Linked DNA regions of Homo sapiens: region 1 is linked to region 2. Evidence: promoter capture Hi-C in human tissues and cell types (Jung and others, 2019). All regions are on one chromosome and are shown on one strand. Each heading gives the region's core, a stretch centred on a gene start or on the middle of the fragment in contact. The rest is flanking DNA. Distances are from core to core; before and after follow the strand shown. Region 1 overlaps SLAIN1 (SLAIN motif family member 1). Region 2 holds the start of CLN5 (CLN5 lysosomal BMP synthase).

What was found. The method cuts DNA at HindIII sites, captures the fragments that hold promoters and counts their contacts. A contact is called where the count stands out against the background at its distance.
Region 1: a fragment that was not itself captured here is called in contact with the fragment with the promoter of CLN5 in region 2 in 1 of the 25 tissues and cell types used here (dorsolateral prefrontal cortex).

What each region holds. Positions count from the first base shown.
Region 1 is chr13:77,709,704-77,713,602 of GRCh38, forward strand. All of the region lies in intron 1 of SLAIN1 (SLAIN motif family member 1), which reads left to right. Among named protein-coding and RNA genes, the nearest start is that of MIR3665, 14 kb to the left of the region's middle. The HindIII fragment of the contact is 5,702 bases long and covers 1-3,899 here.
Region 2 is chr13:76,990,179-76,993,970 of GRCh38, forward strand. CLN5 (CLN5 lysosomal BMP synthase) reads left to right here and starts at 1,903. Exons shown (of 4, transcript NM_006493.4): 1 at 1,903-2,093. The coding sequence starts at 1,921. RefSeq lists silencers at 1,237-1,326, 1,417-1,486, 1,947-2,186 and an enhancer at 2,208-3,407. The HindIII fragment of the contact is 12,191 bases long and covers 1-3,792 here.

The sequences.
Region 1 (3,899 bases), core at 338-2,837, 720 kb after region 2:
TGAGAGATTTTGTCACCTCCAGTCCTGCCTTACAAGAGCTCCTGAAGGAAGCACTAAATATATTGTTGTTGTTGTTGTTGTTTTTGAGACAGAGTCTCACTCTGTCACCCAGGCCGGAGTGCAATGGCGCGATCTCGGCTCACTGCAACCCCCGCCTCCCAGGTTCAAGTGATTCCTCTGCCTCTGCCTCCTGAGTAGTTGGGATTACAGGCACCCACTACCAGGCCTGGGTAATTTTTTGTATTTTTAGTAGAGGCGGGGTTTTGCCACATTGGTCAGGCTGGTCTTGAACTCCTGACCTCAGATGATCTGCCAGGCTCAGCCTCCCAAAGTGCTGGGATTACAGGTGTGAGCCACCGCATCTGGCCTTGGAAGAACTAACAATGGAAAGGAAAAACCAGTACCAGCCACTGCAAAAACATACCAAATTGTAAAGACCAGTGATACTATGAAGAAACCACATCAACTAATGGGCAAAATAACCAGCTGGCATCATAATGACAGGATCAAATTCACACATAACAATATTAACCTTAAACGTAAATGGGATAAATACCCCAATTAAAAGACACAGATTGGCAAATTGTATAAAGAGTCAAGACCCATTGGTGTGCTGTATTCAGGAGACCCATCTCACATGCAAAGGCACATATAGGCTCAAAATAAAGGGATGGAGGAATATTTACCAAGCAAATGGAAAACAAAAAAAAACAAAACAAAAAAACATGGGTTGCAATCCTAGTCTCTGATAAAACAGACTTTAAACCAACAAAGATCAAAAGAGACAAAGAAGGGCATCACATAATGGTAAAGGGATCAGTGCAACAAGAAGAGCTAACTATCCTAAATATATATCCACCCAATACAGGAGGACCCAGATTCATAAAACAAGTTCTTAGAGACCTACAAGGAGACTTAGACTCCCACACAATAATAGTGGGAGACTCTAACACCCCACTGTCAATATTAGATCAATGAGACAGAAAATTAGCAAGGATATTCAGGACTTGAACTCAGCTGTGGACCAAGTGGGCCTAATAGACATCTACAGAACTCTCCACCCCAAATCAACAGAATATACATTCTTTTCAGCACCATGTCACACTTATTCTAAAATTGACCACATAATTGGAAGTAAAACACTCCTCAGCAAAGGCAAAAGAATGGAAATCATAACAGTCTCTCAGACCACAGTGCAATCAAATTAGAACGCAGGATTAAGAAACTGACTGAAAACCGCACAATTACATGGAAACTGAACAACCTGCTCCTGAATGACTACTGGGTAAATAAAGAAATTAAGGCAGAAATAAGTTCTTTAAAACCAATGAGAACAAAGACACAATGTCCCAGAATCTATGGGACACAGCTAAAGCAGTGTTCAGAGGGAAATTTATAGCACTAAATGCCCACCAGAGAAAGCAGGAAAGATCTCAGATCAACACCCTAATATCACAATTAACAGAACTAGAGAAGCAAGAGCAAACAAATTCAAAAGCTAGCAGACAACAAGAAATAACTAAGCAGAACTGAAGGAGATAGAGACATGAAAAACCCTTTTAAAAAGTTAATGAATCCAGGAGCTGGTTTTTTGAAAAGACCAACAAAATAGATAGACCGCTAGCCAGACTATTAAAGAAGAAAAGAGAGAAGAATCAAATACACACAATAAAAAATGATAAAGGGGATATCACCACTGATCCCACAGAAATACAAACTACCATCTGAGAATACTATAAATACCTCTATGAAAATAAACTAGGAAATCTAGAAGAAATGGATCAATTTCTGGACACAAACACCCTCCCCAGACTAAACCAGGAAGAAGTCGAATCCCTGAATAGACCAGTAATAAATTCTGGAATTAAGGCAGTAATTAATAACCTATCAACCAAAAAAAGCCCAGGATCAGATGGATTCAGAGCCAGATTCTACCAGAGGTGCAAAGAGGAGCTGGTACCATTCCTTCTGAAACTATTCCAAACAATAGAAAGAGAGGGGCTCCTCCCTAACTCATTTTATGAGACCAGCATCATCCTGATACCAAAACCTGGCAGAGACACAAATAAAAAAGAAAATTTCAGCCCAATATCCCTGATGAACATCGATGTGAAAATCCTCAGTAAAATACTGGCAAATCGAATCCAACAGCACATCAAAAAGCTTATCCACCACGGTCAAGTCGGCTTCATCCCCGGGATGCAGGGCTGGTTCAACATATGCAAATCATAAACATAATCATCACATAAACAGAACCAATCACAAAACCACATAATTAATAGGTGCAGAAAAAGGCATCGATAAAATTTATCACCCTTTCATGCTTAAAAACTCTCAATAAACTAGGTATTGATGGAATGTATCTCAAAATAATAAGAGCTATTTATGACAAACCCACAGCCAGTATCATACTGAATTGGCAAAAGCTGGAAGCATTCCTTTTGAAAACTGGCACAAGACAAAGATGCCCTCTCTCACCACTCCTATTCAACATAGTATTGGAAGTTCTGGCCAGGGCAATCAGACAAGAGAAAGAAAGAAATGGTATTCAAATAGGAAGAGAGGAAGTCAAATTGTCTCTGTTTGCAGATGACATGATTGTATATTGAGAAAACCCCATCATCTCAGCCCAAAATCACCTTAAGCTGATAAGCAACTTCAGCAAAGTCTCAGGATACAAAATCAATGTGCAAAAAATCACAAGTATTTCTATACACTAATAATGAACAGCCAAATCATGAGTGAACTCCCATTCACAATTGCTACAAAGAGAATAAAATATCTAGAAATACAACTCACAAGAAATGTGAAGGACGTTTTCAAGTACTACAAACCAGTGCTCAAGGAAATCAGAGCGGACACAAACAAATGGAAATACATTCCATGCTCATGGATAGGAAGAATCAATATCGTCAAAATGGCCATACTGCCCAAAGTAATTTATAGATTCAGTGCCATCCCCATCAAGCTACCATTGACTTTCTTCACATAATTAGAAAAAACTATTTCAAATTTCATATGGAACCAAAAAAGAGCCCATATAGCCAAGACAATCCTAAGCAAAAAGAACAAAGCTGGAGGTATCATGCTACCTGATTTCAAACTCTACTACAAAGCTACTGTAACCAAAACAGCATGGTACTGGTACCAAAACAGATATATAGACCAATGGAACAGAACAGAGGCCTCAGAAATAATGCCACACATTTACAACCATCTGATCTTTGACAAACCTGACCAAAACAAGTAATGGGGAAAGGATTCCCTATTTAATAAATGGTGCTGGGAAAACTGGCTAGCCATATGCAGAAAACTGAAACCAGACCCCTTCCTTACACCTTATGCAAAAATTAACTCAAGATAGATTAAAGATTTAAACGTAAGACCTAAAACCGTAAAAACCCTAGAAGAAAACCTGGGCAATACCATTCAGGACATGGGCATGGGCAAAGACTTCATGAGTAAAACACCAAGAGCAATGGCAACAAAAGCCAAAATTGACAAATGGGATCTAATTAAACTAAAGAGCTTATGCAGCCTACTGAATGGGAGAAAATTTTTGCAATCTATCCACCTGACAAAGCGCTAATATCCAGAATCCACAAGGAACTTAAACAAATTTACAAGAAAAAAACAACCCCATCAAAAAGTGGGCGAAGGATATGAACAGACACTTCTCAACAGAAGACATTTATGCGGCCAGCAAACATGAAAAAAAGCTCATCATCACTGGTCATTAGAGAAATGTAAATCAAAACCACAATGAGATAGCATCTCACACCAGTTAGAATGGCGATCATTAAAAAGTCAGGAAACAACAGATGCTGGAGAGGATGTGGAGAAATAGGAACACTTTTACACTGTTGGTGGGAGTGTAAATTAGTTCAACCATTGTAGAA
Region 2 (3,792 bases), core at 653-3,152:
AGAGACAGATGGCAGAAGCAAGACCAGAGGCCTCCACCACTGAACAAGGTCAACCTGAATTTGTTTTTGTAGCTCTGGGAAGTCCTGAACTGAATGGGAGGTTCTACTGTGGCCCTCTACTAACAGTAGATGGAACCTGGAACCATCTACTGTTAATTGTCCTTTTAGTAGCCAAGACATGAAGTACCTATCTCCCTTCTTTGTATTTGGTGAAAAGATTTGAACTCGAGCCATCTCTGCTAAAGGCATGACTTTAGTCACCCCACTGCAGTTGCTTCTCTTTGCCTCCAAGAAAGTCCAATCTGATGGGCAGATTGTGCTTGCAGATGACTGGATTAAACTGCAAATATCTCATGAAGCTGCTGCCTGCATCACCGCTCTCCAGGCAGCCACGGAGGCTCTGGTTGTTGAGGCCATCTACTGTGGCCCTCATACATCATACTGTGTATGGTTCCAGGATTTGTAAATGCTCTAATCAATGTTTTTTTTTTTTTTTAAAGCTGTTCCTGCTGATTGCTTTTTAAGCTAGGCTCAAGTGTGGGGCCACGGAATCCTTCAGGTGCCCTTCAAATCAGACATTACATTTCAGCTCTCAGGGCTAGAATGCTTCCCCCTCTTATCTTGGGCAGGTCTTTGAAGAAGCCAGTTTAGCCTTGGTAATTTTGAATTTGGCCATAGTATACGGAGGAGAGCTAGGTAGCTATCAAAACGCTTAGACAAACGTATGGTAAAATGCAGCCCAGCCTGAACCTCCGCAAAACCCCCAAACCTGGAGCAGCAAGTGGGCAAAGGAGTGTGTGTTTGGGGCAGGGTACTGAGTCCCATATGTAATCAAGAGACCTGGAGGGCCCAAGGAAGTCAGTGACACCCCCACAAGCTACATATCCTCCAATGGATTGTGGTGGTCATCTCCGGCTACCGAAGCCACCTTGCTTATTCCCATAGGCTTACAAACATTATGATGCTTCACACGAGTTGTGGGTGAAGTGAAGGAATTGGAAAGTCCCGGTCTAAGGCCCTGCAAAACTGCTGTCTGGTAAAAACAAGTGACTATGGCAAGGCCCTGAATGTACTACGTATAGACTTAAGTCAGTATTTGTGCCTAACAGCAAAGCATGCCACAAGAGGCTCCTCAAAAGCCGGGTAATTGATGCCATTGTTTTCTTGACCTAGTTGAAGAGTCAAAGAAGAGAAGGTGATGCAGAAACTTCTTTCCAGTGAAGTGACAGATCCAAGCAAGGAACACCTGCCTGTGAGGGGAGCGGTAGGGGAGGGGGTAGATTCGGCAGCACTCGGGTAGTGGCAGGGACCACATATTGTCGGTGTTAACCACTGTTATCACTGGCCCAGGTCGAGTGAGGACGAGTCATTTCCCCACTAAGCACTTGGGGAGTGGCAGGGACCACATATTGTCAGTGTTAACCACTGTTATGACTGGCCCAGGTCGGGTGACGACGAGCCATTTCCGCACTATTGTCCCTTCTTCCTCACTGCACCCCCAGCCCTGCACCCTCAGCTCCAAATACACATTCTCGTTCACTCAACGTTTGTTGACACCTAGCGTGGGCCCTGTGGGATGGGGTAAAAGTTCGGTGTTGGGAGGAGCCCCGGTGACAGATTTTTGGTTTTGGTGGTGGCTTTTGGGCAAGGACAGGTCAATTCATAAAAGATGACGCCCCAGGTCTGGATCGAATTCTCCTGGGAGCCAGACCAAAGCACCTTCCTGGACTGCAAAGTGTGGAAGCCGCCGCGGGCCGGGCGCGGGGAGGTGTCATGCGCCGGAACCTGCGCTTGGGGCCAAGCTCTGGAGCTGACGCGCAGGGGCAAGGCGCCCCGCGTCCCGGACTGGCGGCTCCGCGCATGCTCCTCCCACCGGCGTCGCAGGCCTCGAGAGGCTCCGGAAGTACTGGGTGCAGCCTGATGGCGCAGGAGGTAGACACGGCACAGGGCGCCGAGATGCGGCGGGGCGCGGGCGCGGCTCGGGGACGCGCTTCCTGGTGCTGGGCCCTGGCGCTGCTTTGGCTCGCGGTGGTTCCGGGCTGGTCCCGGGTCTCGGGCATCCCCTCCCGGCGCCACTGGCCGGTGCCCTACAAGTGAGTGCGGCGGCGCGCGCACTGTCGGGGTTGGGGTCGGCGTTGACGATGGGGGATGGGGTGCTGGGGCGGGGACCCCTGCTCACCGTGGTTTGTGTCGGGTCACGAGATGGTGCGGGGACAGCGCCGGGTGACGCTCGGAGCGCACTTGAGAGCAAAGTTGAGGACTGGGGAGTCGCAGCCGCTCGTTACGTGCAGCCCTGGGACCTTTCGTCCCCTCTGGTCACTTGCGGCAGACTCAGGACAGTCCTGAATCGTGGAAGAAGAAAAGGAGAGTAATGTTATTTAATGGAGGGACTTCTGGGTACAAGTAGCTGATTTCTTGAGTAGTTTAAAAACACTGTCTATCGCATTTATTTATATCATGCACTGTCGTTAGTTATTACCGCGGAACATTTGGTACAATTTACTGGGCGACCAACTCGCTCTGGTTTGAACCTGATCAGAACCTGATCCGAAGTCCTTATTGGGACTTCCCAGTTTTGCCCTCAAAAGTCGCGCATCCCGGGAATCCCCGTCTCCTGCAGTCCTGGTTAGACCGGGAAGATTGTCACCGCTTTTGTCCAGTCTTCAGCCTGGAGGTAGGACGCCGGTCCTAAGTCGGGGACAGAGCCCGCACACCTGGGAGGTCGATTCCAGCCTTTGACAGAGAAGACACAGCCTCCGGCGGTCAGAGATAGCTAAACACAGAGAAAGAAAACATGGTGTCAACATCAGGCAGGAGAAAGACCAGCAGTTTTTGAAAACAGCTATTTTTCTTTAAACCAAAAGCATCATTGGACATAATTTTAACTTACTAGCATAAGTAATCAACAGCTAAAACTGCACACAACAAACCTGAAAAAAACAGCTATTTTGTATGACAGTATGAGTGGGAAGGAGTTCTGCCTGCTGCGGGTCAAATCTGGCTCTGTCATCACCAGGGATCTTGGGAAAGTTACTCAGAATCTCTGTGCCCACATGCCCTGAGTCAAAAAATAGGAATAGTGGTAGCACGTACCTCATAGGTTTGCTGGAAGGATTAAATCTAGTAAAATGCCAGCTGTTGTCAAACCTAGATAGTGTATTCTGCTCACTGAAATGTTTACAACACTTTTTTGTTTTGTGTGATATACTACGTGGAAAGAGAAGTTTGTGGTTGAAGCTAGTTTTCTGGAAAATGTTAATAATAAAATGTTTGTAAGAAGTCAAAATTACTCAATAGAACAAGAATTGTAAATCCAAACGATTTGATTTAACATTAGGGCAAGGTGTTGACTATGGCTTTTTAGTGGATTTTTTTTTTAAGTCTCAGATATTAAGTACGTGCTCCCATCTAATTCCCTCAATTGAATATAATATTTAAGTTTATTAAGTTCACACTTAAATTACCTTTGAACTAAAATAGATTTTGCTGTGTCAGTGAAATCTCCATGTGATTATGTATTTGTTTAAACCAGGTAAGTGCCTATAAAACACTGTACCCAAGTAGCAGAAACTTTTGGGAGCGTCGTTAATAGTTTCGATTAGCATAAAGATTTTAACTTCTTAAGTTAAAATAGAAATTTTTGTTGATTTGTTAAGATTTGTTAGATCTGGCTACAACCTTGGGGATCTAGGATTCTTAGATAGAAGCTGTTGTCGCCACCACTTCTTTCTTTCCCAGTGCCAGATTATAGGTGACCAGTGTGTCTGTTGAGCTGAATTCAGCTGCAGTGCC